7 separate regions of the Homo sapiens genome follow, and all the other regions are linked to region 1. Evidence: promoter capture Hi-C in 16 types of primary human blood cells and fetal thymus (Javierre and others, 2016). All regions are on one chromosome and are shown on one strand. The core of a region is centred on a gene start or on the middle of the fragment in contact, and the rest is flanking DNA. Distances in the headings are between cores, read along the strand shown.

Region 1 (3,892 bases), core at 945-3,444:
TGGGTTTAAAAGAGCAGGATTACAGACAGGGCAAATGGAGCAATTTAGGGCTTTTCTCCTGAGGTTTCTTGTACATTCCAAAGGAATAGAAAAGGAACATGAAACATTTACAAACTGTTATCACTTCACAGAAAAGAGGTACAGAGAACATCCAATTTGCTTCTAGGTTGTCCAACTCAGATCATCAAAAGAGGAAAAAATGAAATAATTCAAGAGAGAACTTCTGGCCAGAAATAAAGATTGTGTACATTCACACATTTTCCTTGTGCTATTGGAACCTGAGAATGTGGATGGTGTGCAAGAGGGAAAGAAACTTACAATTATTTGATGTTGTGAGAAAAACATGGGGCTAGGACTGAGCTCTTTTAATGGGTGTGATGATGAGCAAGCCTGCTAATACCTTTAACGTTCAGGTACCAAATATGTAAAATGAAAAATACTTGTCCTCCCTACGGCAAGAATCATTATGTGCATCAAATATAAGCAAAACTTTTATGGCTAAAATAAAAGGATATGGAGAAGAAGGAATAATAAATTCTAATTCTGTTCATAAAGAAAAACATTTCAAATTTGTATTGATAAAATAAATTGAAACAGAATAGGGACATATTTGTAGCTTTTAGAAATAAATTAGCTGTGAATATATTATTTTTAAAAACTGTAATAAATGTACATTGAGTACAAATGAATAATTATCCCAAAAACCAGAATTTTAATGCTAGAAGAAAAGGCAGATCATCTCGTTTAAGACATAAATTTAATCTTCTTAACAAGAACCTTGTTATTCAAGCGGAACACCTAAATGGCTGCTCTTGTTAAAATAAACCTGAGGGTGGGCTTGCTTTGTCTCTCCCTGCACGGCTCCAGAAAATTTCTACACAAGTTCTCCTATGGAACAGTTTTAAAACCCCAGCTTGAGTACTAACACTAGTTTCTAAAAATAAGGAGAATACGGCCAAGAGGTAAAATTGTACAAAGGCAACTAGAGTCAGGACTAGAATCCAACTGTCTTGATTTAGTCTAATACTCTTCAGTCTACTAGTCTAGTATTCGCTCTATGTCCTGTTACTTCTATTTTTTTTTTTAAGAAAAAAATATGAAGGGTTTTTTTTTTTGACTCTGTAAATAATTCTTTCAAATCTCTTTCTGGCTCAAGATCACTCAACTGTAATCTTTCTGGAAACAAGTAATTGATAATATAGGTGAGATCAGATAAGTTAAAAGAGCCACCCCAAGTTCATTCTGTTCAGGATTAAGTAAAGGTAACACTTTAGGGGAAGGTGTTTAGACTACAAGCTGCGGTGTTGTGAGCGCCCAAGTATCATTTAATTGTCCGAAACGTCAAGATAAAATATTTCCGAGGGGCATCACGGAAGTTTAACAGAATGTGTTAGACTTGAACGTTCAACAGCTTGCTCATTTTGCCAAAAGCCCTTTCACTAAATGTGGGAAATTTGGAAAATGGTACCTCAATAAATAAACAAACAACGATTTTTAATTTAAGAACCCAGGAAAAAATGTTAACAATTCTCACATTCAGATTTCTTATCAAAAGTCAACGTGAAATATAACTAATTTATCGCAAGCAATTTTATCAGAAACTTTTCATTATCTCTTCCTCCATAAGAAAACCAAACTGCATTTACGTGCGCTTTCAACAGTGTTAGAAAACTAAGCACTCAAATTTTTTGTACTACATATAACACTTTACATGAACTTTCAGATATTAAGTAAAGTTTGGATCCTCAATTCTTTATAAAGCCGTTTATAAGAGGTAAATATCTTCACGACCGCCAAATGAGAGAAAAAGATTTCGAAGTTCGTCTCTTAAGTTACTACGTGGAATGCAGAGGGGCTCAACTGCAGCTGTGTGTGTGTTTATTTTTAATGCCGCGATCCTAAAAACATCTTTAGGAGTTTAGGTTTGCTTCACTGCCTTTCCCAAAATTCAGCAGCTTTGATTTGCCTTTTCCAGGGAGACAGGAAGCCAATAAACAGGGAAAAAAAAGCAAACGGCGACAATTACAAGGTCGTGAAACTCCACGACCTCCCAGCTGAAAACAAGACCTCGGGTTTGCACTCCGGCTCTCTAGGGCAGACACTGACCTTAGGAGTCTGCGAAACGCCCACGCTCCACGTAACTTTCTCTGAAACATTCTCTGGAAAGCTTGTCTTTTCCTAGCCGAATCTGGATTACCAAGGCTTCCGGAACTCGCAGGCTTCCGGAGCGACGCAGGAGCCGGAAGTGGCTGAAAAAAAAAAGAAAAAGTTACACCAACGAGAACTGCGCTTTAGCGGCGCTGCTGAAGGCACTGGATGGCCAAACAACCGCGAACGCCGACAAGCCGAAGAGCCGAAGGGCCGAAAAGCCGAAGCGGACACCCGCGCGCGGTGATTGGCCGGTTGGCCGGAAGAACTCTGTCTCTGATTGGCAGGAGAGTCACGAACCGGTCAGCCCCGGGTCAGGGGCCGCAAGTGAGGACACTACAAGTGTCGAGGGGCCTAGGGGAAGCCGGGGCTTGGGAGGGCAGGGCTTTCTCTGCTTGCGGACATCGCGAAGGGCCTCTGGCAGGCGCCGCCGGGTGGCGGCGAGACGCCTCCGCGCCTCCGGGGTTCCTTGTTCGCTGTCGGAGGAGGACCGGCTGAGGGATGGCCTGGTGGGGAGGGAGCCCTCGGGCAGGTGGCTGCGTCGGGCCTGGGGCAGTTGTGCTGCGCTTGGAGACCTGCCCGCCCTCGGGGCCTGTGTGCACAGGGAGGATAGGCTGTTTATCTCTGCAGGCTCAGGAAGGCAGGTAGCTGGCCCGTCAGTCATCCGCCCTGCAAAGCGCTCCCGAGAGACCCCGTAGAGCGGGCCAGCGCGCGCCTGGCCTGAGGTTTCCCGCCCCCGGAGGCCCTCACATCTCCCCGGTAACGCTTAGGAATTCGGGCAGCCAGCTCGCCTACCCCTGGGGAATCGAGGCAGAGCTTCTGGGAATGGGGTCTGAGGGAAGAGTGCTCACCAGGCAGTGACATGTAGCCGTTGAGGATCGCCACTGCCTTCTCGTTCTGTGGTATGAATGGCAGTGTCTCTCTAGAGAGTTAGTGCTTAAGTTTGAATGATGGCAGGCACTTCAGGATTCCAGCACGTAGTAGGGTTTAAGAACGTCTTAGTTCTTACCTCCAGTCTCGACTCACCGTTCCTACAAGGAACACTCACTTCTACGAAAGCTCTATTAGACATTCGAGGGAGAGCTTATACTGTAGAACCAGTGTTATTAGGAAAGTTTTTTTTTTTTTGCTTGTATTTTTATTTCAGAAACTACCCATGGAGCAGAGTTGCTAAAATAAAATTTATTAACTCTAATGCTATCCAAATTGTGAAACAATGGTACAAATGAGATAGAGTAGAAGCTACAAATTGATAGAGTATGTAGTTCACTTAGGGGTTTGGGAGTGGATTTTCTAGAGCTGCAACTGTCCAGTGTAGTAGTCACTGGCCACCTGAAAAGTGGCTAGTCTGAACTGAGGTCTGCTCTAAGTGTAGAACATGCACCAGATTTCTAAAGCGTGGTCTGAAAAGAAAAAGAATGTAAAGTATTTCATTAATTTTATATTGCTTACATGTCAAAATGAGAATGTTTTGGAAAATTTTAAATTACGTGGCTTCCATTATATTTCTATGGATACTGCTGTTCTAGAGAGTAAAAAAATCTCACTGAAGAAGAGTAGGCCTTTCGTTTAGCAACTGTGAAGAAAACCAACCACGCTGCACCTCTCAGGTAGCCTACAGATGTGCTGTGCTTCACTTAATTTTTGAGAGGGACGGGGGAAAATACACACAAAGACTTGATTGACATAGAGGACATTTTCAGAAAGCAAATTCTGGTTCATAGAGCCTTATGTATGTCATGTG
Region 2 (3,892 bases), core at 656-3,155, 1.8 Mb after region 1:
CTTATAGCCCATGATTCATATAACTGTGCTTCAGGAAGTAAAGGCTTTTTCTGAAAAATGCACACGCTAGCTTCCTTTTCTCAGTTTACCTTTCTACTTTAGAGCAGAGGTGTTGCAAGGATTAGAACCAAGGGTGATCCAGAAGAAGAAACTGCAGAACTATGGGCATTGCAAGGAAAATAGGGTTGTGCTCAATTTTTAGTTTTGTATTAAGCTCCGGGAGGACATTCCTTAGAAGTCCTCCATAATTACGTTGGCTATTCTTTCCGCTCTCTCTATCTTTGTTTTGTTACTGAGCTGGCACTCCTTGGTTGTGTCAATTCTTGATTCTTTACCCACGAGAGTGGAAAGAAGTCTTGATCTAACGGAGTAGCCATCAAAAGAAAGAGCAGTCAGTTTCCTATTCCCGCACCCTCCCCCCAGCTGTCTTCTTGCTTGAGGAAGTACTTACTGTAAAGCATTCCAATTTTCCTAAGCAGATCTTTTCCCCTCACAATCCTTTTTCCTCTTTTTTAATTCCAGTAAGTTTTTTGGCTCTTTCATTGGTCATATATGACTGCCATCCGAATCCAACCCTCCTGAATTCTGTCCCTGTCCATTCTAAATCCGTATTCTGCACAAATAAGATATATTAGGTCTCAATACTGGTCTGGAAGTTAGAGTCACGCCTATTTCATTCTGCCTCCATCAAGAAGCGCCCGTAGGAAAAAATAACAACAAAAACAAAAACAAAAACAAAAAAACCCAGAAGCTGGCCTTCCTCAGCGCCAGCCCCAGGACTGGTTTCCCAGCAATAGGCGCAAGGTACAGCCCTTGCCGGAAACTCCCAGTCTTACTCAGGGGGGAAAAATGGGGTTTTCCGGAGACCTGTTCCCCTAGGGTTTAAAAGCGCGTCCCGTGGGAGCTTCGCTTTCACTTCTCTAGGGAGTTCTGAGCTGCAAGAGCCCAGCTACTCGCCGAACCCGGGCCGCCTGCGTGAGTAACTTGGGGCGGCCAGGAGCACGGGAAGGGCGCCAGACAGAGAGCCTTTGGCTGCTTCTGAGACCGGCTGTGGGCTGCCACCGCTGAGCGGCGCGGAGGCTGCAGCGTTCCCTCTCAGGACAGAAAGCAGGCGTTGGGGACTGTTACTCGCAGCCTGCCAGGGGCAGCAGCCGCCCCAGGTTCAAGTGGCTATGTGCCAGGATACTCAGGCGCGGCTGTTGGCTGCCCATGGGAGAGCCAGTGCTCTCCGCAGGTCCAAAGTGCAAGGCCGGGCTATTCCCGGACTTGCCTAGGAGCAGGGGCCCCCAGCGCGTCTGGGATTGCCCCGGCGCGTCGGGCGCGCGAACTTGTGCGCAAGGGAGAAGAGCGCTTACCATGGAACATGGTCTGCGGGAGGCGGGCGTAGTCATGATGACCGCAACTGGAGCAGGAGCAAGCTCTCACCGCCCATAGTCACTCCCAGGACCCTGGTCTTCCGCGGAGTTGCCGAGTCTGTGTTGGGCAGGGTGATCTCTGCAGCTGGTTCCTCTTACCCACGCCGCGACTGCAGTTTCATCCATCCCAAGGGGGGCGGCACACACTACGGCGTGGCTCTGCGCTTTGCCTTTTCCATAACTTCCGTAGGATCCGCCAGCAGTGTACTTTCAGTTTCTACTTTGCGCTTGGTCTGCAGGTTCAATCTTTGGGATCATCAGCATGGAATCTTCATTATCCCCTCTCTCCTGGGCACCTGCTTCCCGCGCACCTGGATGAGGACCAGAGGAATTCGCGAATTTCCGAATCACCGCAGGAAAAACCAGCTGGCCTGAATCAAAGCAATTCTGGGTAAAAGACTTCCCAGATGATCTCTCAACGCCTTGGCAACGCTTGGCGACTGGGAGCTAGAACCATGAGTTGTTAATGTGTGCACGGAAGCCACAAGTGTGCAGGACGCAAGCTGGGTTATTGGAAGCGGACGACACCAAGGAGGCGTTGCCGCGGATGTGGTGGACGATGCCAAGTCGTCTTTTAAAAAAGGAAGTGAAGAATGATTAAGAGGGTCACGCCCTCTACCACTCCAACCTCTCTAATCAGTCTCTTTCTGCTCCGTCTGCTGTACATGCACCTGCTCAGGTGAGACCTCAAGGAAAAATAATCCTGTGGGTCCACCTAATCTGGTAAGTGTTGTATTTGGAAAATCAAACCCCAAATTAAACGCAGGACGTGGAAACTGACGATAATATTTAACTATGACTTCCACGTGCACATTTATCTGAATTGGCTAATAAATCAAACTATTCGTCTTGAATGCATGCCACTGAAATGTTAACTTTTTCCTGGGCTTGAATTATGTAGCTTATTTGCTACATTAGTTTGGTTTCTGCTATTCTGCAGAAACCCTGCTTAGATGAAGGTGGATAATGTAAACCAGTAACAACAGCGATAATAATAACGACTATCATTTATCTAGCATTTGCTCTCTGCCAGTTTTGTGCTAAGCATTTTATGTATATCATCTCATGCAAAACTTTGTGTGAGGTAGACCATTTTCTTATCTGCACTTTACAGATGTGGGGACTGAGACTTCCTTAAGTAACTTTCCAAATTTCACTTAGCTAACTGAGCTTAGACACAGACTTGCTGCATTTGGGCTGTAGAAACTCCTGCTTGGAACTCCTGTGAATAAAGTAATAATGTGCACACTGATGCCGGGAGGGAGATGACAGTACGTGTGTGGCTTTGCCCCAGTGTGGGGACTTCAGGAAAGTTTCCTGGAGTCTGTGACTTCTAAACTGACACTTGAAGAGGAATGAACTTGGGGCTGGTAAGGAGTATGTCACATTCTGCTATAGCGTGAACAAGGAAGAGGAGGGAAGGAGAAAGGAAAAAAAAGGATGGCAATGAACTAGGGAGAACAGAGTTGCTCAAGCCTGAAACTTGGGTCTCTGATTCCTTTTTTGGTCTCATTTCCCACATCAAATCCATAGACAAGTCCTGTCTGCCCCACCTCCAAAATTAACCCTAAGGTGACTATAGAGACTGTCTAAGGGATCTTCCAGCTTTCACTTTTGCCCACAACCCCTTCATTCTTCTCAGAGCAGCAGGATATCTGATTCTATTTTGTGCCCCACCTTCTGGTCACTTCCCACTGGGTACCAGGCCCTCAGTGCCCTGGTGATCTGGGCCCCACTGCCCTCTCTGACGTTTCGTGGTACCACATCACTATCCTCCAGCCACAATGGCCTTTCTCTTCCTGCCCAGCGTCCACTTACTATGGTCTTTAGCCCATGGCTGGCATTCAGTAAGTACTGGGGGGTGACAGAGTAAGAGAGAACAGGTGAGTGGGAATGCATCAGTGAATATGTGTGAAAGAGAAAGTTCATGAAAGCAGAAGGAAATAGAATGAAAGAGGAAGCGAAGGGGGTAAGCAAATGGAAAAGAGAGACAGAATGGAGTGAGAAAAGCCACATATTTCCATTTGACTGGAACCTAGAGTGGGAGGTGGGGAGGAGGACAGACATGACACTGGAGTGAGTTTTAAAAATGATTTCTATAATGAAACACGCCTAGGTTGGGGATTTATTTATTTATTTATTTATTTATTTATTTATTTATTTATTTTAAATCCCTGACAGCAGCATTGAAGTATGTAACTGTTCATAGCCTGCACCTTTTTCTTTTTTTAACTTTCCAGGAACAAAGTAAAAGAGCATCCATCAATACTTTGCACAAAAGGAAATCCGTCTTCCTTTTATCACAATCACCATAAATCCAGGTAGAATAAGGGTTGTACATATCTGAACTTTTGGGAAGCATGAAAGGAAGTTATTCAGAGCTGCAGGAAAGGCAATGTAAATGTTACACTGGATTCTGCCCCCAACTATAAAGAATCTTTCTGAAGAGAATATTCATAAAGCTTTGGGAATTGTTA
Region 3 (3,892 bases), core at 672-3,171, 1.7 Mb after region 1:
GAAAACAAAACAGTTCTTCTGTTACTGTATTTGAATGCATTCTTACCAATATCTATTTTGGTTTGCCTGTTTAGTTCTCTGTGAACTCACTAAATGTCTTGGATCAGGTTATATGGAGTTATATAATTGTACTTTTTAAAATTAGTTTGTTACTTCTAAAGAAAAATGTTTTTCTATTTGTCTTTCATATGATAAAAGAATTTTAGCATCTCTAAAATATTCAGCAGAAACTATGGGGAACATGTTACATGTTTAAGTATCATTTTTAGGAAATTATAGCTATGAAAACAAGTTTATGTTTGATATTTGGAAATAAAATAAAATGACAAAATGAATTATGCAGAATCACAAAGAATGCAGTTTCTTTTTTTGTAGTTTCTTTTTTTTTCTTTTTAGTAATAACATTTGTTGTATTCAGTTACATGATAGTTATATTAATTTTATTAATAATTGAGTGAAAGTTGTAGCTACCTCTTTATTTAATTTTGTTTGTAAGGTCAGAATATCTCCATTTACTAGTCCACTGACTCTTAATATAAGTATTATATGTATAAAATAATAATTCACATAATACATGTAATTTGCATAACTAGGTGATCTTAATCTTATAGCATTGTACTTTCTATTGTTTGGTGGTAAACAGAGTAAGATTCGTTTTATTCTAGATTCTTCAAATCATCTCAGGAAGTCACTGAACTCATCACTAATGGTATTTCTTCATGCCTTGGAAATTAATAAGATAAATTTTGTTCTTAAAATGTAGTAATTTACCATAGAGATAGCCTATAAGTTAAGAGAATATGACAAATTGATTTGCTTAAAATAATTACAAGAAAACTAGATATTTCCAGCAGTATCAGTTTGGATATCTTTAAATCATGACTCCTCCATATTTATCCTGACCTTTTTCACCACTGATAACTAAGTATTATGCTCCTTTTCATAGATAATTTTGCTTATTTCAAAATGCAGTAAAACATTTTTCACAAAAACTGATAATTTACCTATAAAACTAAGAGAAAACATTAAAATGTGAAGTTTCACAATTTCAAGTTATATAAATTATTTATTAAATTCCTTCCTGTTTTAGAGAATGGAGGTGTTGTCCAAGTTGGAGAATTGTTACCTTGCAAGATTTGTGGAAGAACATTCTTTCCAGTAGCATTAGTGAGTAGACTGATTTTGTACCTTTATGGTTTTACAGATCTGTAATTGTTCAATAATTCTGGTCAATTCTCATGGGAAGAATTTACGTGGAATAGTTTTTGAAGAGTTAATGGGTACTATTCTTTGTTCAAGGGTCTTGATTTCAGCTATGCCATTCTTCCAGAATGCTTTCTTTCCTTCAGAGTTTGGTCTTCAGAACTCTTCTGTTAAAGTTTAAAGGTATTCCTCATTTTACGAGACTCTTACCAAAAACAAACAAAATAAAAAAAAAAAAACAAAATCAGATACCTTAGAAATAAGTAATTATTTACAGATACAAAATAATATAATGTCTGTAATTTGCTTTATAGTACTTCAGGAAAAAATCAGGGATAGATGAAACAAAATAGCTAAAATGTTGGGAGTTGTTGAAGCTGGGTGATGAGTAGTAAATGGTAGTTAATTATCCTTTTCTGTCAGCTCTTATTTATGTTTGAGATGTTTCAAAGACAAAGACTTTTTCAATGTAAAAGTACACCTAAAATTTATTATGCATTCTTAAGATATGTTAGCTACTTAGTAAGTACAAATAAAAACGCTTTTAACTAATCTTAATAAAGTTAGCTAACTAAATAGGGAATAATAAAAATTATGCCTATGTACCTTACGTATTTTAACTTCAAACACAAATACACATTTATTAATACTTTAATGTAAGACAGAATTTTTCTGTGAATGTATATCTGCTGATTAAAGTTCTGCCATGATCCACTGTGCATCCTCTTACTATTTCTAGTTTGTTTCTTTAAAGCAAAGTGAGGAATTAATGATCCAAAGTGTCCTTCTGACTGTAGGCACCTTTTAAATAATGATGGCTTTTTTGTAATCTTTTAAAAACATCTTGCCCACACATTCAATGATTTTTTTCTTATCAATTTATTATTTTTCAGAGTGTTCAGCTGAATTTCACAGCAAAAAAAAAGTGCCTTTTTTGGCTCTCATTTATGTGGTATTTAACTTAATGATGTTATTATAACACCTGAAACTTGAATTATGTTGGGAAACAAGCACCACATACACTTGACATATATAACTTAATAAGGAACATATGTACATGGGTCCACTAGATAGTCATCTGCTATCCTCATTTTTTAAAAATACTTAAGAGCTGTAATTACAGTGCTTGGTTGTTGAAATGAAAACTGAAAATAAGTATGTAAAACACTTGATTGCTAATTGTGTACTGAAAGCCTAAGAGGCTGCAAGACACGAAATAATCCAGTTTTGAGGTTTTATTTTTTCCCAAAGTTTGACAGTTCTACCTTCTTTAGTGTTTGTCAAAATACAAAAGAAAAAAGAGTATTTAGTTTACCGATGTCATCAATCATCATGCTTAATATAGTGGAGGGAGAATGTTTATCCAGTTGGCTTATTGGAGGTCATTTAAGACAGCTTCCATTCTAATGTCCCTAAACTGAATAACTGAATAAATGAATGAATGGACAACTCTTTAAAAAAAAAAATCTGAATAGTAGTAGAACACTAGATAAGCTCAAGAAAAATCTTAGGCGAAGAAAACTGCAAAGTTTGAGTTCCAGAAGGGAGGAAAAGAATTAGTATGGGAGAAGGACACAAATCAGACCACCTGTCCTATTATTTTGTGTTAACTTTATATTAGCATATTACTATTATGTTAACTTTAGTAATCCAAACTACTACTCTTACATTAACTTTTGTAATCCTAAAACTAATGTATTCTTTGTATTTTCTTTTTCTAGTATCTATGTTCAGGCATTTAGTGGAGACTTTTTTTTTTGCAGTGTAGTAACTTTGACTTTGTTACTTTTTCTTATTCTTAGTGTTACAGGGCAGATAAATATTTTACAGAAAAAGGGTCCCAATCCAGACACTAAGAGAGAGTTTTTGGATTTTGCACAGGAAACAATTTAGGGCGAGTTCGCAGTGCAAAGTAAAAGCAAGTTGATTAAGAAAGTAAAGGAATGAAAGAACGGGTACTCCATAGACAGAGCAGCCCTGAAGGCTGCTGGTTGCCCACTTTTATGGTTATTTCTTGATGATATGCTAAACAAGGGGTGGATTATTCATGCTTCCTCTTTTTAAACCATATAGGGTAACTTCCTGATGTTGCCATGGCATTTGCAAACTGTCATGGCGCTGGTGGGAGTGTAGCAGTGAGAATGACCAGAGGTCACTCTCGTCACCATTTTTGTTTTGGTGGGTTTTGCCTGGCTTCTCTAGTGCAACCTGTTTTTATTAGAAAGGTCTTTATGATCTGTATTTTGTGCTGATCTCCTATCTTATTCTGTGACTTAGAATGCCTTAACTATCTGGGAATGCAGTCCAGTAGGTTTCAGCCTCATTTTACTCAGCTCCTGTTTAAGATGGAGTTGTTCTCTTTCACACACTTCTGACATTAGTAATGTACAAACTAGGAGAAGAGTATTAAATAACTTAATGACATGTTAGAAGAGTGTTTATAATTTTTTTTAGTGAGAAAGATAACTTAGAGCGTGCATTATATATACGTTTTACAACTTAACATTTGGTTAAGGCAAGGTGTATCTTATTTATTTATTATTTTGTATTCAGGTTTTTCATTTGGTCTCAGATTTTTAAACTGGTCTCAATGTAAATAAAGTTCTGTAGTCTTACCTTCTGTAGAAAAGAAAATGATAGGCTGCATTTCTTTATCTTAACAGAAAAAACATGGACCCATTTGCCAGAA
Region 4 (3,892 bases), core at 819-3,318, 1.7 Mb after region 1:
GGGAAATGGTGTGCATAATAACATATTAACCATAACCATTAGGAGCTAAATAAAACCTCTCTGCTTACCTAAATTAGCTGTTTTGAAGACCATACCCATTCACTCATATTTATCCAGTCATTTAGCAAATATTTATTGAATATCATTGACTGAAGTATTAAACTAAGCTTTTAAAAACAATAATGTTCTATGAAAATGCAGAGAATTACTGTCAAAGGTACTGAATAGATAGTTGATGATCTGTTTATTTACTATGAGCTCTTAGACATCTCCAGGGGTAAAATGCAGTCTGTTTACATATTGCCATCAGTATTTTACATTCTTGGTTTCAAGAATGTAATTCAGGAGAGCAGTGAAAGTCAGGGCAAATTTTTTCATCTCAGACCAAAAGTATAGCTGGGCATGGGATCGAATAACATTTAATAGTAGCAGTAGGCCATTCAATTGGTGCTATTATCGCTTTGTAAAGGAGTCTTAGGTCAGTTTTCTCAGAAGCTGACAGGATTCTTGTGGAAGTTATTTATTTAAAAATAGCTCCCTTTGAGTGAGGACAGCAAGTTAGGTCCTGAGGGCAGGAGAAGAAAGGTAAGCAAGAATGTAGTCTTACGTGAAGACCAACTTCAGGCAAGCCTGAATCAATGGAGTCCGCCTGTTAGTCATTGGCTGTGAGCTTCCCATCAGAGAGGAGGGTCTTAACCTCTCAGATATGGCAGTACCCTTTATGAGAAGGGCAAAGTTATAGATCATCAGCCAACATTCTCAATAGTAGGGGTGAACATCCCTTCCAGAACAGGAGATTTTGGAAAGGCAACAACAACCTTCACTTCTGAATGGCCATTAATATTCATAATAACAACAGAGGCACTGCAAAGCTTTAAGAGCTCTCTTACTTTTAGAGAAATTTCAAAGAAGTTTCAAAGAAAAACTGACTGATAACCACGATAGTCTTTTATAACATTCAAACTGTTTGAAAATTAGTGTTCCTTTAAATTATATTTAAATTCATTTTCTATAAATAAATTCATATAAACAATTTGCATATAACTTAAGGAACGCTAATGTTTTTAGATAATATTTTGTACCTAGAATTTATTTTCTTATGAAAGCATAAACTTTACTATGTTTTGAAAACAGAGCCAGAGGAGATTCTTATTTCTGTTTTGTTGATTATCCATTAGCTGCTAAGAAACATAAATGTACATAGGCTTAAAAAACTCTGCCTCTTAGAAACGTCAAGCAGACAATTGTTAGATAGACAATATGCCAGGTGCATACTTTTGATATACACTCTAAGAAATCAATACATAAATGCATAAAATGGTATATTTTCAATGTAAAAAATGCAAGCGAGCAACTTTTCTAGAATGTTATGTTTGCAAACATGGCATTTGTATAAATAGCTAATAACACATAACTTTAATTACATGTGTATCTACAATAAAAACTGGAGATTTTTCTTAAAGTAAAACGAAGTAACCAATTATATTATTAATTAGCATATGTTTATAGGGTGACTTCTCATATTGCTCTTTCCATTAAAAGGCAGCTGCAGAAACCAAATAATCTGGTTGTTTTATTAATACGGTTCTTTAAGAAGAACCATAAGGGTTTTGAAACCAAGAATAAGTGTCAAAATATTTATTTAGGTGATTTGATAATAGGATAATTTTTCTTTGTCTTTAGTATAAATACCCTGACATCATCATCAACATTATATAATATTTGTAATATTTCATAGCATTTTAAAGCAAGTTTTCAAGGCCCTAGGAAGCTGCTATGATTAATAATGAAGTAAGGGGGAAAGGACTTTTGATAGTTTTCTCTTGTTTTGTTGTTTCTTTTCCTCCAAAAGGAAAGATACATCCGAAAACACTTGGCTGTCCTGGAGACAAAAGGCAAAATTGGACAAAGCTGAAGTGCACAACTTCTCAAAACAGTTCTGGGTATTGATACCTATGCAAATTTTTAGAGTTACCCAGCAACACAAAATAAACTAGGAAAAACAGTTTTTGTTGTCTTCTTACCTCTGTATCTAAATCTCTGTTTTACGAGGATTAAGTTTGGCTATAAATGTAGAACAATCCCCCTTACCTCTTCTTTTCTTTCAAAAAAAAATTGCTTAAGATAAAATTATTTCTATCCCTTGTATAAATTTAGAGATTGATGGTCCAGATGCAAGAGATCCATGCTTCCTCAGTCTTTTACCTCTTCTATGAATGGACTCTATTCCCAAAGTCACCTTATGGTCCAAGATGGCTATTCCAGCCTCAGGCATCCTGCCCAAATGCCAGCCAACAGAGGAGAACAAAAAGAAGGAGAATGGCTCACCCTCTCTTTTTTTAAAGATGCTTAAAAATTATGCACATGGAAGTTATGAATTCTTTGTCATCTGGACTTCTTAGCTGCAAGAAAGACTGGGGAGTAGAGTTTTTATTCCACAGCCATATGCTCAGGTATATATCAGTAATACTCTTCTGAGAACAACAGAACAGTTAGTGGCCTCTGCAGATCCACCTATCTCTGTTCTGTGTTCACTACCATTCAGGCCTCCAGTGGATTCATGCTGTGTTCTGGTCTTGTAAATCAGAGCCCTTCTCCCACATCAGTCTATCTGTATCCCTTTTTCCAGGCCTATTGCCAATCTTCTGCTGCAGTGTCAGATGCACCACAAAGCTAGTTACAAGGTAAATGTGTTTCAAATTAAGATATGAATGCCTAAATATGTAGAATCATCCAAGAGGGAATTTTGTCTTTAAAACTAGAAATACATTTTTATCTTTTGCCTATCCATTCCCCACCCAAACTGGTTGTTTTTTTAGAAGGAGTACAATTAATAAAATAGCATTACTACAAATTATCTAGACACCAACCACATTTCCTTGTCAATACCAACCCTCTTTTTTCCACCATCATTAATCATATATACCTATCTTTGGTGAATTCAGCAATACAAAGAATAACAAAACTTGTCACTGGAATGTATCATAAATATTTCAAATGCAGAATTCATTGCTTGTCAATTGTTCTTATTGATTAAACAAAATAGTAGAAAAAAGCTAAAATTTTACAGATGTATTTTCTGATATTAAACTATACTTTCATTCTTGGTATAGATTTTATTTAATAATAATTTGGTTGAATATGGTTTGCTAACATCTTTTTTATGACTTTTGTATATACAATATACAGACAATCCTATAATTTTTCATATATTGCTTTTATATTGCTTGGAGTCAGAATTATGCTAATGTTAAAAAATTAATTATAAGCTTTTATAAGCTTTTCCTCTTTTTAAATTTTATTGAAAATGTGGACACAATATAAATTATCTGTGTCTTAAAGTTTGGTAAAACTCACCTGCAAATCTTTCTCCACCTAGGGCATTAAAGTGAAGAGATGTCTTTACCATTTCAATTTATTAACAGTTTTCATTCTACTCAAGTTTCTTGTCACAATTTTTAATTTTATCCAGAATGATATCCATTTCCTCTGAGTTTTTACATTTATAGAAACAAAGCTGTTCATAATATTTTTGTATTTGTAATTCTGTGACGTCTATATTTACTTTTTCTGTTTAGAGATAGTTTTGGAAAAATGGACTCATTATATGCAGAATACAGTTGATTCCTAACACATATAATATACAAAGGTGACTCCTGATGGGTTGAAAACCTCATTAAGAAAGATAAAAAGGATAGCATTAATACAAAAACATGTGAGCAAATACCATCAATAATCTAGAATCTGAAGAAAACTTTAATTAAAAAATGCACAATTCATAAAGAAAATATATTGACAGATTTTATAGAATTAATGTTATGGGCTTCTGTTCAGTGAAAGGTATCATAGACAAAATTATCAAGTATTTGGCAAACTGGAAAAGATTTTTTAA
Region 5 (3,892 bases), core at 860-3,359, 1.5 Mb after region 1:
AAAGAAAGTTTTCTAGAGTTTCTATGTCAGTTTTCAAGTGGATCAGTCTTTTTTAAACATTTTTACTTAAAAATTAAAAATACTAATTTGTGCATGCTTAAATATAAATATTGAAATAGTCTGAAATATATGAAATGATCAAACAAACAAAAGTATGGGAATATCCTTTAAGACATACAAACTTTGAATATATTTAGATTATTTAAGCTAAACTTTATTCATTTACATAACAGGTCACAGGTGTTGCCTTTACTATTAAATAAGATTCTTAGAGTAGAAAATAACATATAATTTTTTTTGTAAAATGTTAAGTGCAAAGACCAGAGCATTAAACAATAAATGATGCATACATGGAGGAAAATATTAAAAGGAAATTTAAAATGTAAAAGTCAATTATCAATGGTTAAATCAAGAAGCAGAGAGTCAGTGAGATCACGTTATTTCCAAATTTATTCAATGTGTATATATTACTTGTAGAACTGCGTAAAAAGAAATTCATGTTTGGATGTTCTTTACCATCTAAACATTGCTGAGAGTGTGGTTGAAATGTTCACTTTTTAGTAGATTTCTGGAAAATCTAGGCTGGCCTTGAAAATATTAAATATAGTAGAAGAAGGTAAGTTTTCCCTCATCCTAAAATTATGATAATAAATTATATTTTTAAATTATCACATAATTTTCAAAGCATTTTTATAGTCATTGTCTTATTGGACAATACCAACTCTCTAAAGTTGGCAGAACTAGAATTGTCCTTATTTTGCAGACAATGAATTCAAAGTTCATGAAATGTAGTAATTTGCTCTCTTAATCAGTATACACAATTACTAAGTGTTAGAGCAAGAATTCAAGCCTGTTTTGTGCCATGGCCAATCTAGTGCTGCCCTCTATCCTATAGGAACTGGTATGTTTAAGAGTTAAGCATAAACATGGAAATATGCCTGGTCTGCTTCTAGTTATAAATTCACTTACAAACCTCACTGGATCCTGAACTAGGAAAATCTGTAAGGGTTATTTACTTTCATCAACCCAAAGATGAACATGTTAAACAGGTTCTTAGATTTAATTAAACTTTTTTTTTTCCACCATATCTTTGTGTCTATCAGCAGCTCCTCTTGAGTATACCATGGCTTCATTTAAAGAGTTGCATTGCTTAAAAAATAAACATTGACATTGCTGATCATTTACCTGTGTTAAATATGCCAGTCTAGTTTGCATTGACATAATGCTGACATGAGATTGTATCATTTGATTATACACACACACATTTACTAGTTCTAATTTAAGTAGTAAGTTTTGGTCCTTACTAGAACATGATTTATATAATTGGCAACCTAATGGTAAGATGCAGTAATATAATCTATCATGTTAAAAGATAACTGAAATTCACAGAATTCTCTCCTATAACTGCATTAGGAAGTTTTAATGGATTTCTACTAAGCTTCTCTTAAGGATAAAATTTTTTGAAAACAGGTCACTTGTAAGATCTGCCTTAGTTTGTTAATGCTTCTGAAATATCACCACTATAACCTGCTTTTTAAAATAGCCTGACACCTACTAAGTACCCTTTCGCCGCCTACAAGAAAGCATTTATATTTTTAATTTTAGTGAAGAGTTCCTGATTTAAGAATTAGTCATTTGCTGTCATTTGAATTTCAAGTATGTTGTAAGTACTTGAGGTTCTTTCTGTATGAATTTTCAGCGGAGTTTTTACATTTTTCATCATTAATTTCATCTTTCACTTGGGATCAGCCAAATCAAAAAGTTTATGTTCTACCCTTTCTTAGTTCTCTTCATTGCAAACATTCAGAACCTTCTCAAAAATAATATCATGGCTTGAGACTGTTTATTGACAACCGATAATGCCAGAAATTAGTGATTATGGTTTTCAGTTTAAAAAGCAAAATGAGAAACTGAAGAAATGGCGTTTTTCCTCCATTTAGCTGATCAGCTATTCACATCAGTGATCATTCGCTTTTGAGGCTAAGGATACAAATGTTAATGTTTTGTATATTCATAGAAGTGAAAAATAATATAACAGTTATTGTGCTTAGTCTGTGCTAAGCACTATTCTAAAACCAAATGAATTTCTCCTAACAGCAGCCCTAAAAGGTAGGCATTATTATTACCTTTTTGACAGATGGGCAAATTGAGGCACAGAACAATTGAGTAAAGTACCTGTAGTCACACAGCTAATAAAGCACACAGATAGGATTTAAACACCAGGTGGTCTGTTTTGAGACTCCACACTCCACCCCTATAGTTAATATAAGGGTTTGGATCCCTACTCTTTGTTGTATGGCCATTTAATTGCTTTGTGGAAAGAAAGGGAAGGAGGAGAGAGAGGGAAGAAGGCAGGAGAGATGGCAAATTCCTGCTAGCTGGTTGACATGGTGTGCTATAATTTATAATGAAGTTCAATTTAAGGACTTGTAAAGATTTCAATAGAATAGTCTTAAATGTTCACTAATGAAGTATGTGGTAATATCAGATGGAGATAGCAAGTGAATTTCAATTTAGTAATAACCATAATTGTAATTCAATAGCAGTCTCATATTTGGAACAAATAAAATTCAAGTAACTTTTTAACTTTTAAGTTCAGGGGTACATGTGCAGGTTTGTTATATAGGTAAACTTGTGTCATGGGGGTTTGTTGTACAAATTATTTCATCACCCAGGTATTAAGCCTAGTACCTATTAGTTATTTTTCCAATTTGAGTAATTTTCACAGCAATAATTCTACCTTTTCTTAAAATTATTAGGTATTTTTTCACCCCAACACTCAAAGCTTATTTAATATTAATAAAATTTTACCTTTTATAAAAGTCCATAAATTTTAGTAAGGTTGTAAATTAGGCTGAAATTACAAAACAAACAAACAAACAAATTTAGAGCTTTTAGCCAAAGGAAAGCACCCTCATCCCACTCCAGCTCACCCCTGCTCATTTCTATCATAACTGCTTCCCTAAGAAAGAAGAAATTTTTCTAGGCGGAGCTTGCAGTGAGCTGAGATTGTGCCACTGCACTCCAGCCTGGGTGACAGAGCAAGACTCCATCTCAAAAAAAAAAAAAAAAGGAAGAAATTTTTCTGATTGGTCAGATTTAATTGAACATTCACTGAGCCATATTTTACTATTGCATCGGGTCACTGTGTATTTAAAGATACAAAGCAGGCTGGACGCAGTGGCTCACACCTATGTAATCCCAGCACTTTGGGAGGCTAAGGCAGGCAGATCACTTAAGACCAGGAGATCAAGACCAGCCTGGCCAACGTGGTGGTATCCCTTCTCTACTAAAAATATTAAATACAAAAAATTAGCCAGGCATGATAGGGTGTGCCTGTAATCCCAGCTACTTGGGAGGCTGAGGCATGAGAACCACTTGAACCCGACAGGTAGAGGTTGCAGTGAGCTGAGATGGCACCACTGCACTCCTGGGTGACAGAGCAACAGAGCGACTCTGTCTCAGAAAAAATAAAAATAAAAAAAATACAAAGCAATGGTGCCCACATTCTTATTTGTCCAGCGCCTGGTCTTGTGAGAGCAAGTGCAGTGAGTATCCTTGAAGCCTAGACCTTCAAGGTCCTCTCCTCTCTTTCATTCCGTGCACCAGGGTGGGCTTCATCTAGGAGAACAATGGACTCATTTCTGTCTTTTGCCTGTTGGTCCTTGCAGATGAGTCAGGTTTCATTTGGAGCCCAGAAAATCTTACATGCCCTCTTCTCAACATCTTCCTTTACACATGTCTCAGTAAATATTAACATGCTCTAAATATGCCCTTGCCATAACTCTGAACTCAGGATTACCAGAAAGTAATTCCAAAGCTGAGACATTTTCCATATCTTAATCAGCAGATAATTTGTACTTACATTAACACTGACTTGATTATTCACATG
Region 6 (3,892 bases), core at 703-3,202, 1.5 Mb after region 1:
AAATTGTAAGACTTCTGTAGCACATGATTAATCAGCCAAAGCCTCGCAGACACACACAGACACACACACACACAGTACCATTACCATGGAAATCCTTCTCCTACCCTTTCTCTTAAGTCAAAATTATGTAAAACAATATTGATTATTATTCACTAAGTGCCCAATTCTTTCCTAGTAGACCAAGCTCCCAGTTTCAGGCAGACCCCTACGGAGTGACGAGAACAGGAGACCTGGCAGGAAATGGGGTGACAGATGCTGGGGCCAAATCACCCTGACAACTCCTCTCAATAATAAATCTGAGAATCTAATCTCTGCTAAATTGTTAATGGCAGCAAATGAGATACTCAGTTACTCCTCCTGATAGTGTATTTGCATTTAAATGAGTCCTTTCTGGAAGGACTCCCTTAACCCAAAGGAGTGTTTCTAAATGCTGACAGCTCCCAGCACACAGGGCCTCTGGCTCTGGTTTCACATTTTCCCTTGCTGAGACTCATGATATCACTAGGCCATTTGATCTCTAATTTGAGAATATCAGAAAGGAAGCATTGCAGACCTCAAAGTCAAGATCCAAAGTTTAGGGTTTTTTAAAAAAAAATTTGTGCAATAACAAGTCATAGGTTAAAAAAAATTACATATTGCTGTATGTAAAGTTCCAAGAAGACAGATTCAAACCCTATATGTTGACATAAGACATTTCCCAATATCTTTCCCCTTTTCTTTCTGGTTTCCCTATGCCTCTTACCGTGCTGGAGTATCAGAAGCAGTTCAATCCTGCCATTTAATGTCTTTGACTGTTGTCTTTAACACCATCAACACACTGATTCCTTTCCATGAATAAAAAGTACCTGATAAGAATACTTTGATAGATGAATGTATCTATATTATCACAAGAAACTATCTTCAGTGAGTCTGGCTTCGCAGATGGAAACTACACTGGGGGGTCAAGAAAACATGTTCTGGGACTGTCCCAAGTCGCCACAGTTGCATCCCTACTGCCTCAGGCAACTTGAAGGAAAAGATCAAACATCTTTCACTCTTGAGACAATTGTTGTCTTCATCTCAGAAACAAGACAAAGTCAGGCTGTGAGTGGTGGGGATCCAAGCCCAAGTCTGTTCAACTACAAAATCTCTAACCTTCACAGTCATCTCAACCTTCTGGTTCTCTTCACCTTCTCATCCTCCTGCCTCTTTACTTTATAAGGACTTTTATCTTCAGCATGAGATACCTAGCAAATCCTTCAACTAAATGATAAATTATGAAGGCTGAACATGTTCTCTCATTCAAGGTATTTAGAACTTGCAAAGGAGAAAGGGGACAGAAGCCTGCCCAAGTATGCAAGGATAACACTGACAGAGTATCAGCTCCCTGAAGCTCTGGAGTGGCAATTTCATGCCATCTCATTATAGCCTCACAGTAACAGTCTACAGTTTGTATTCTAAGTTTTGCCATGGCTCCCTTTGACAATCTGAAGCAACCTACATAACTCTTCTTAAAATGATGCTTTTCAATGCATAAAATATAATACGTAGAATTGGAAAGGAAACTACGAAGTTTAAAATACTGTTATCAAAATATTTAAAAACAAAATTCATGATATACAAAGGTATGGGCATTTAAACTCATTAAACACAGTATAGGAGAGTTATATATATTTACTTAAAAATTGTGATATTGTGGGAAAGGGTTAACAATTTTTATACTGCTTTACATGTACACTGAAATTGAACAATTATAACAGTGAATGATGGGAGCCATGATTCTCACTATTGGAATAGGAATTTACAGACAAGCAAAGGGAGGAGGCTAGAATGATCTATGTGTTAAAGGATTAAAGTTGGAAACATAAGTATGTGCTCATATTTAGCTTAATACAGACACAGAATGGTCACATATAGAAATACTTATGTATATATGCATGGGTAAGTATACACATATATTTCTTCACTGTCTTAGTTGAAAGGCCTAAACAAAATGACCTGCCAATAATGACTGTGTCTGGGACCCAGATCTTGATTTGTATTACCATTCTCCCATAAAAGGAACAAGGGCTCCATGAAGAAATGGCTGATTCTTGGAATGAAGAAGGAAGTATACAAGTTGAGACTGGAGGAACTTATAATACCATAAAGTAAGGGATTGTTAACAGCCCTGCTGCTCCTGCCATACACACACACACGCACACTCACACATCAAAGGGGGTATGTCAAAGGAGCACAGGAACCTACTGAAAGAGCTTCCAATGGGCAAAACTGGAACAAATTGAACAACAAAATAAAGTAGTAATTGATTATTACCAAAGGCATAAAATATAATACATCTCCATAAGTCTATAATATTGATATCAATAAGTAATTGAATACTTGGTAGAGAATAGACAGCTCTCCTGTACAGAATTCCATATACTTTATGTACACACTCTGCCCTCAGGGAGGTAGAGCCAAAGTCCCACTCCTTAGGTTTGGGTTTCATGTAGTTACTTCCTACAAGTACAGTATGGAAGGGATGGGCAATAACGTTACAGTAGAGAAACCTGACAAACACTGCCTCAGCCAGACAATCAAGGTCAACACATCACCAGTCATAAATCACATCGGTACTATAGCACCTTGATATGATGTGAGGAAAAGGGACTTTACCTCTTTCTTTCTCCTGCCAATAGTTCGCAACTCCAGTCTTATCATAAGAAAAGCATCAGACAAATTGCAACAGTGAGGCCTTCCAGCAAATACTTGACCACTACTCCTCAAAACTGTCAAGGTCATCAAAAACAAGAAAAACTATCACAGCTAAGAGGAGCTTAAGGGGACATGACAACTAAATTTAGTGTGGTATCCTGGATGGATGCCTGGAACAGATTTAAGGATATTAGGTAAAAACCAGGGAAACTTAAATGTAGTTAGACTTTATTTATAGTTAGTAATAATGTATCAGTATACATTCATTGATTGTAACCCAATGATATGGTTCAGATTTGTGTCCCTACCCAAATCTCATGTCAAATTGTAATCCCCAATTTTGGAGGAGGGGCCTAGTGGGAGGTGACTTGATCATGGGGGAGGACTTCCCCCTTGGCTTTCTGGTGGTAGTGAGTTCTCATGACATCTGGTTGTTTAAAAGTGTGTAGCACCTCCCCCTTCTCTTTCTCCTGCTCCAGCCATGTAGGCCCTGCCTGCTTCCCCTTTGCCTTCCACCATGATTATAGGTTTCCTGAGACCTCCCCAATCATGCTTCCTGTACAGCCTACAGAACCACCAGCCCTTCTTTATAAATTACCCAATCTCAGGTAGTTCTTTATAGCAATGCCAGAATTACACCAAGGTACCTTACTATTGTATGATGTCAATAGGAGACACTGGGAATGGGATATATGGGAACACCCTGTATTATTTCTTCAATTTTTCTGGACACCAAAGCTGAAAAATATAGTCTATTAAATAAAAAAAGTAGTGATGATTTGATTATAACATCAGTGTAGTGATAGAGATATCTATAAAAACAGCAATAAGGAATTAGCTGTTGTTTCTATTGGAAACAAAGTCCCAGGTACTCCTAACATTCTTGTGGTTTGTTGCCTACATTATGTTTAAAGGACATGCTAAATGCTAAATTTCAGTTAGAAGTTAGTGAAACTAAAAATGAGATTTTTCCCATTATACTTAATCTGTATAAAAGGAGTATATGAATAGAATTCCATTTATACAGATTAAGAATCTCCTGCTCTATGGTAATATTAACGGGCTAATGTTATGAAAGTGAGTCTCAGAGCGATGAATTAAGCTGTTCTAGCTTTCAAAGAGCATATATTCTATGACCAAGAATTCTAACTAAGTTTTGTTGGAAAGCTGTTGGCTACATTATCACCTAACTTTGGGACTGATAGATGGATGGAAA
Region 7 (3,892 bases), core at 722-3,221, 1.5 Mb after region 1:
GCTCCAAGCTCTCATCTCTCCAGAGATTGCAAAAACAAGCAGAACAGTCAGAACCAATTTTTTCAGAACTTTGAGTAACAGTCAAAGGTTTATTGCAACCAAAAAAAAATGGTGGGAAAGCTTGGTAGCATTTTTACTTGCTTTTGAAAAACCCCATCTTCTAATATCATTTAGAAGAGGAAATCTGGTATTCACAGGTGGCAACTAGAAGGAGCAGAGCAGATCTGATTCACAAATGATTGTGTCTGCTCTAATTTGGATGGGCTACATAAAGAGCTGATGCAAGGTGTTCATCTCTATATTACCTAATTTAAAACTCAGGCCAAAAAAAACAGTGGACATTGCTCAAAAGTACTGAAAACTGAACGAACAACCATCAGTTGTGTGGAACAATAATGTTTTGACAATATAGTCAAAGCATTATTATCTTTGTGACTGTCTAAGGCCTGTATCAAGTGAGATTTATCCTAGGAATGCAAGAGTGGTCCAACAAAAAATATAATCAATGCAATATACCACATTATTAGAAAGCAGGAAAAACACCCACATGATAATTTCAATTGATGCAGAAAATACATTGGCAGAATCCAACACCCTTTCACAATTAAAACATAAACTGGAAAACTAGGAATAGACAGGACCATCTTCAACATGACAAAGGGCATTTATGAAAACTACACAGCCAAAGTAATACACAACAGTAAAAGACTGAAAGCTTCTCTCCTTAGATTAGAACAAGGCAAGGATGTCCACTTTTGCCACTGTTATTTAACATTGTACTGAAAGTTCTAATTGTACCCATAACTTATACCATATACAAAATTATGCAAACTGTTCAAAACTGAACTGTTGGTTCAGTTTGTAGTTTTTTTTTTTAATCAGTGTCTACTGTTTTTCTGGCCTGAGTTTTGAACCTAAACATAAAAGCTAAAACCATAAAATTCTTTAAAATACATAGGGATAAATCTTTATGACCTAGGATTTGGCAATAACTTTGGCAATAAATTCTCACCTCAAAAATGCAAGCAACAAAAGAAAACACATAAATCTGACTTTGTTAAAATTGAAAACTTTTGTTCGGCAAAGGACATTACTAAGAAAGTGCAAATACTACCTACAAAATGGGAGAAAATATTTGATGTCATATATCTGATGAGGATTCAATATCCAAAACATATAAAGAACTCCTACAACTCAACAATGAAAAGACAAAGAAAATTAAAAATGGGCAAATAACTTAAAATATTTTAACTCCAAAGAAAATATACAAACAGCAGTAAACACATGAAAAGATGTACAACATTATTAATTATTAGGTAAATGCAAATAAAAACCACAATAAGATACCACTTTACACCTACTAGCATGGCTATAATAAAATATGAAAGGGAAAATAGCAAGTAATGGCGAGGAGGTAGAGAAATTGGAACCCTCATATTTTGCTATTGGAAATGTAAAATGGTATAGCCACTGTGGAAAACAGTTTGGCAGTTCTTCAACAAGCAAAACATGGAATAACTATTTGACACAGCAATTCTGCTCCTAGATTATACACCAAAGAGTTGCAAACAAGGACTCAAACAGATATTCTTACATCAATGTTTTGTACCATTACTCACAATAACCAAAGGTAGAAACAACCCAAGCGTCCATCAACAGATGAACAAAATGTAGTATGAAAATATGATGGAATATTATTCTGAAATAAAAAGAAATTAGTTCTGATATGTGCTGCACCATTAATAAACCTTGAAAACATGAAATATGCTAAGTGAAATAAATCAGGCACAAAAGGACAAATATTGTATAATTAAATAAAATATATAGAATATGCAAATTCATAGAGACATAAAATATTGGGTACAAGAGCCTGGGAGGAAGATGAATAGGAGAGTTATTACTTAATGGGTATAGAGTTGCTATGTGGGGTGATGAAAAAGTTTTGGAAATGGTAATGGTGATGGTCGCTCAACATTGTGAATGTACTTAATGCTACAGAACTGTACATTTGAAAATGATTAAAATGATAAATTTTATGTTACTTGTATATTATCACACTAAAATATTCAAAATAAAAACATAATGGGTTTATACTGTAAGAAATGTACATTTTTTAAGATCAATAGTTAGAGGAATAGGTCTCCTTTCAAAGTCTTTGTCTTCTTACTTGAAAAGTGTCTTCCCAATGTACACAGAAGCCCAAATGCAGTAGACAGTGTGTTTGGAACATAGAATATATGTAAATTCTTTAAAAACTATATAAAGTATTTCAAAAAGAGATGACTAATTCAATGTAGGCGGACAGTTAAATAAAATATGTTGAAAATATGTAGGTCTCTGAGAACTCCTTAACAAGGTCTTAGGATCAACACACTGAAAGGAATGTTCTAAGTTTTTGTATTGTCCTTTTAAAAAAAAAAATAATATCCAGATGCTCATTTTGAAATAAAACTATTTATTATTAAAAAACCAGTAAAAAGATAAATTCTCCAAATACTGTATTTCCAAAAGTGTGCTTGGCCAACTATTTCCTATAAAATTGCACTTACAAGAAAATCACAAATATAGTTATTATTTCTTTGTTATAAATTGTAATACGATTTCTACGTGCTATCACTTAAAATGTAAAGGGCTTTTTAAAAAATGTTCAATACTGATACCTTAATTTTTTACGTTCTTTTCTTCTTTTTAATCTATAAATACATTTTGATACTTTTTGAAATATACGTTTTAAATGTTTCTCTTGAAAAAACTTGTACCTAAACAATAAACACCGTGTATCTATACACTACAACACATTTGAGAAAAATTAATATCAGCAAAATCATACTATTACTGAATATCTTTTCTCTGTGGCTATATCACTTAACTCTATGTGTCTTTATGATTCTTATTTATAATAACGGCAATATAATTTTGTAAACCTATTTTGTAAGGTAATTAAAAAGAATTTAAATTATGGCAAAACCACTGATAATCAGCATATAATAAGATGTTTGATGAAATATGTAAACTCTCCTTTTTTTAATCAATATTTATAAAATTGTAGCTTTTTTTCTTCTTTTTTAACTTTCCTGGTCTAGTAAATTTGGCAAGAAAACAATAAACAGATTTTATTCAATCATTTGTCAACACAGTAACGAATTCCCATATTGCTTCAGGATGTAAACCATGTGTCCTGTGAAGGATTCATTGACAAATGCATTTATGCTTTTCTGCTCTATTGACAAGCTTTTAAACATAAAGAATTGGTCTCTATGATTTATATTCTGATTTCATGTAGGAAGTAGGCTATGCTAGATAAAAATTTAAATACACTTTTGATGCTCGAGGCTAAATGTACATATCCATCTAAATGAAATTGTGCCTTCCCATTAGAACAGGTATGAATAAAACCTAATACAATATTAAAAGATTCACAATTAAGGCAAATATTTATATTTATATAAATATGCATATTTTGAAATAGTTCAATAAAGATAGCTAGATGGAAAATGATAAAGATTAAATTATCTACAATTTAATCCAGTTATAAAATATTAAGCATTAATCTATGATAATGTTCACAGAGAGAGGAAAAAAATGTGTCTCTTCTGCAGCTCCCTCTTAGGATTGAAGTGTCATTTCTCCAGAAGACCCCTTCAGATAAACATTCATTTCACATTGGACAGCACTGTCTTAAGACGTGTTAGTAATTTTAGGCCTCATACCATGAAGATTTAAAATTTTTTTAAAAAAACTTGTTTCCTCTCTCACTTAAGCATTTACATGTAGACAGTTTGAGACTAGCACAGTGATTCTGGTGTTGAATAAGACAGAGTCAACTTCAGCTTTTTAATCCATTCTCCCTAGGATGTGATTCTAATCCTCATAATCTAAGATCATTCTCCAC

Evidence for each region. The method cuts DNA at HindIII sites, captures the fragments that hold promoters and counts their contacts. A CHiCAGO score of 5 or more calls a contact.
Region 2: the fragment with the promoter of IL7 here is called in contact with the fragment with the promoter of PEX2 in region 1 in 2 of 17 cell types (total B cells and erythroblasts); the score reaches 7.1 in total B cells.
Region 3: a fragment that was not itself captured here is called in contact with the fragment with the promoter of PEX2 in region 1 in 1 of 17 cell types (non-activated CD4 T cells); the score reaches 6.1 in non-activated CD4 T cells.
Region 4: a contact is called between a fragment that was not itself captured here and the fragment with the promoter of PEX2 in region 1, in 1 of 17 cell types (activated CD4 T cells). The highest score is 5.3, in activated CD4 T cells.
Region 5: a contact is called between a fragment that was not itself captured here and the fragment with the promoter of PEX2 in region 1, in 2 of 17 cell types (non-activated CD4 T cells and naive CD8 T cells). The highest score is 7.4, in non-activated CD4 T cells.
Region 6: a contact is called between a fragment that was not itself captured here and the fragment with the promoter of PEX2 in region 1, in 5 of 17 cell types (non-activated CD4 T cells, total CD4 T cells, fetal thymus and 2 more). The highest score is 12.6, in non-activated CD4 T cells.
Region 7: a fragment that was not itself captured here is called in contact with the fragment with the promoter of PEX2 in region 1 in 1 of 17 cell types (total CD4 T cells); the score reaches 6.3 in total CD4 T cells.

Annotation. Positions count from the first base shown.
Region 1 is chr8:76,997,884-77,001,775 of GRCh38, forward strand. It overlaps PEX2 (peroxisomal biogenesis factor 2), which reads right to left and starts at 2,195. Exons shown (of 4, transcript NM_000318.3): 1 at 2,107-2,195. RefSeq lists an enhancer at 2,190-2,484. The HindIII fragment of the contact is 1,935 bases long and covers 2,166-3,892 here.
Region 2 is chr8:78,803,558-78,807,449 of GRCh38, forward strand. IL7 (interleukin 7) reads right to left here and starts at 1,906. Exons shown (of 6, transcript NM_000880.4): 1 at 1,356-1,906. The coding sequence starts at 1,365. It overlaps MITA1 (metabolism induced tumor activator 1), which reads left to right and starts at 915. Exons shown (of 3, transcript XR_002956715.2): 1 at 915-2,138. The HindIII fragment of the contact is 3,968 bases long and covers 1-3,875 here.
Region 3 is chr8:78,674,697-78,678,588 of GRCh38, forward strand. It overlaps ZC2HC1A (zinc finger C2HC-type containing 1A), which reads left to right. Exons shown (of 9, transcript NM_016010.3): 2 at 1,091-1,167; 3 at 3,867-3,892. It also overlaps a transcript of IL7 not described here. Among named protein-coding and RNA genes, the nearest start is that of ZC2HC1A, 11 kb to the left of the region's middle. The HindIII fragment of the contact is 4,456 bases long and covers 1-3,892 here.
Region 4 is chr8:78,657,322-78,661,213 of GRCh38, forward strand. The region is part of intron 1 of LOC105375911 (a long non-coding RNA gene); the gene reads right to left. Among named protein-coding and RNA genes, the nearest start is that of ZC2HC1A, 6.8 kb to the right of the region's middle. The HindIII fragment of the contact is 2,397 bases long and covers 871-3,267 here.
Region 5 is chr8:78,529,454-78,533,345 of GRCh38, forward strand. All of the region lies in intron 1 of PKIA (cAMP-dependent protein kinase inhibitor alpha), which reads left to right. All of the region lies in intron 2 of LOC105375911 (a long non-coding RNA gene), which reads right to left. Among named protein-coding and RNA genes, the nearest start is that of PKIA, 15 kb to the left of the region's middle. The HindIII fragment of the contact is 1,347 bases long and covers 1,437-2,783 here.
Region 6 is chr8:78,511,178-78,515,069 of GRCh38, forward strand. The region is part of intron 2 of LOC105375911 (a long non-coding RNA gene); the gene reads right to left. Among named protein-coding and RNA genes, the nearest start is that of PKIA, 3.2 kb to the right of the region's middle. The HindIII fragment of the contact is 5,573 bases long and covers 1-3,892 here.
Region 7 is chr8:78,489,932-78,493,823 of GRCh38, forward strand. The region is part of intron 2 of LOC105375911 (a long non-coding RNA gene); the gene reads right to left. Among named protein-coding and RNA genes, the nearest start is that of PKIA, 24 kb to the right of the region's middle. The HindIII fragment of the contact is 2,516 bases long and covers 714-3,229 here.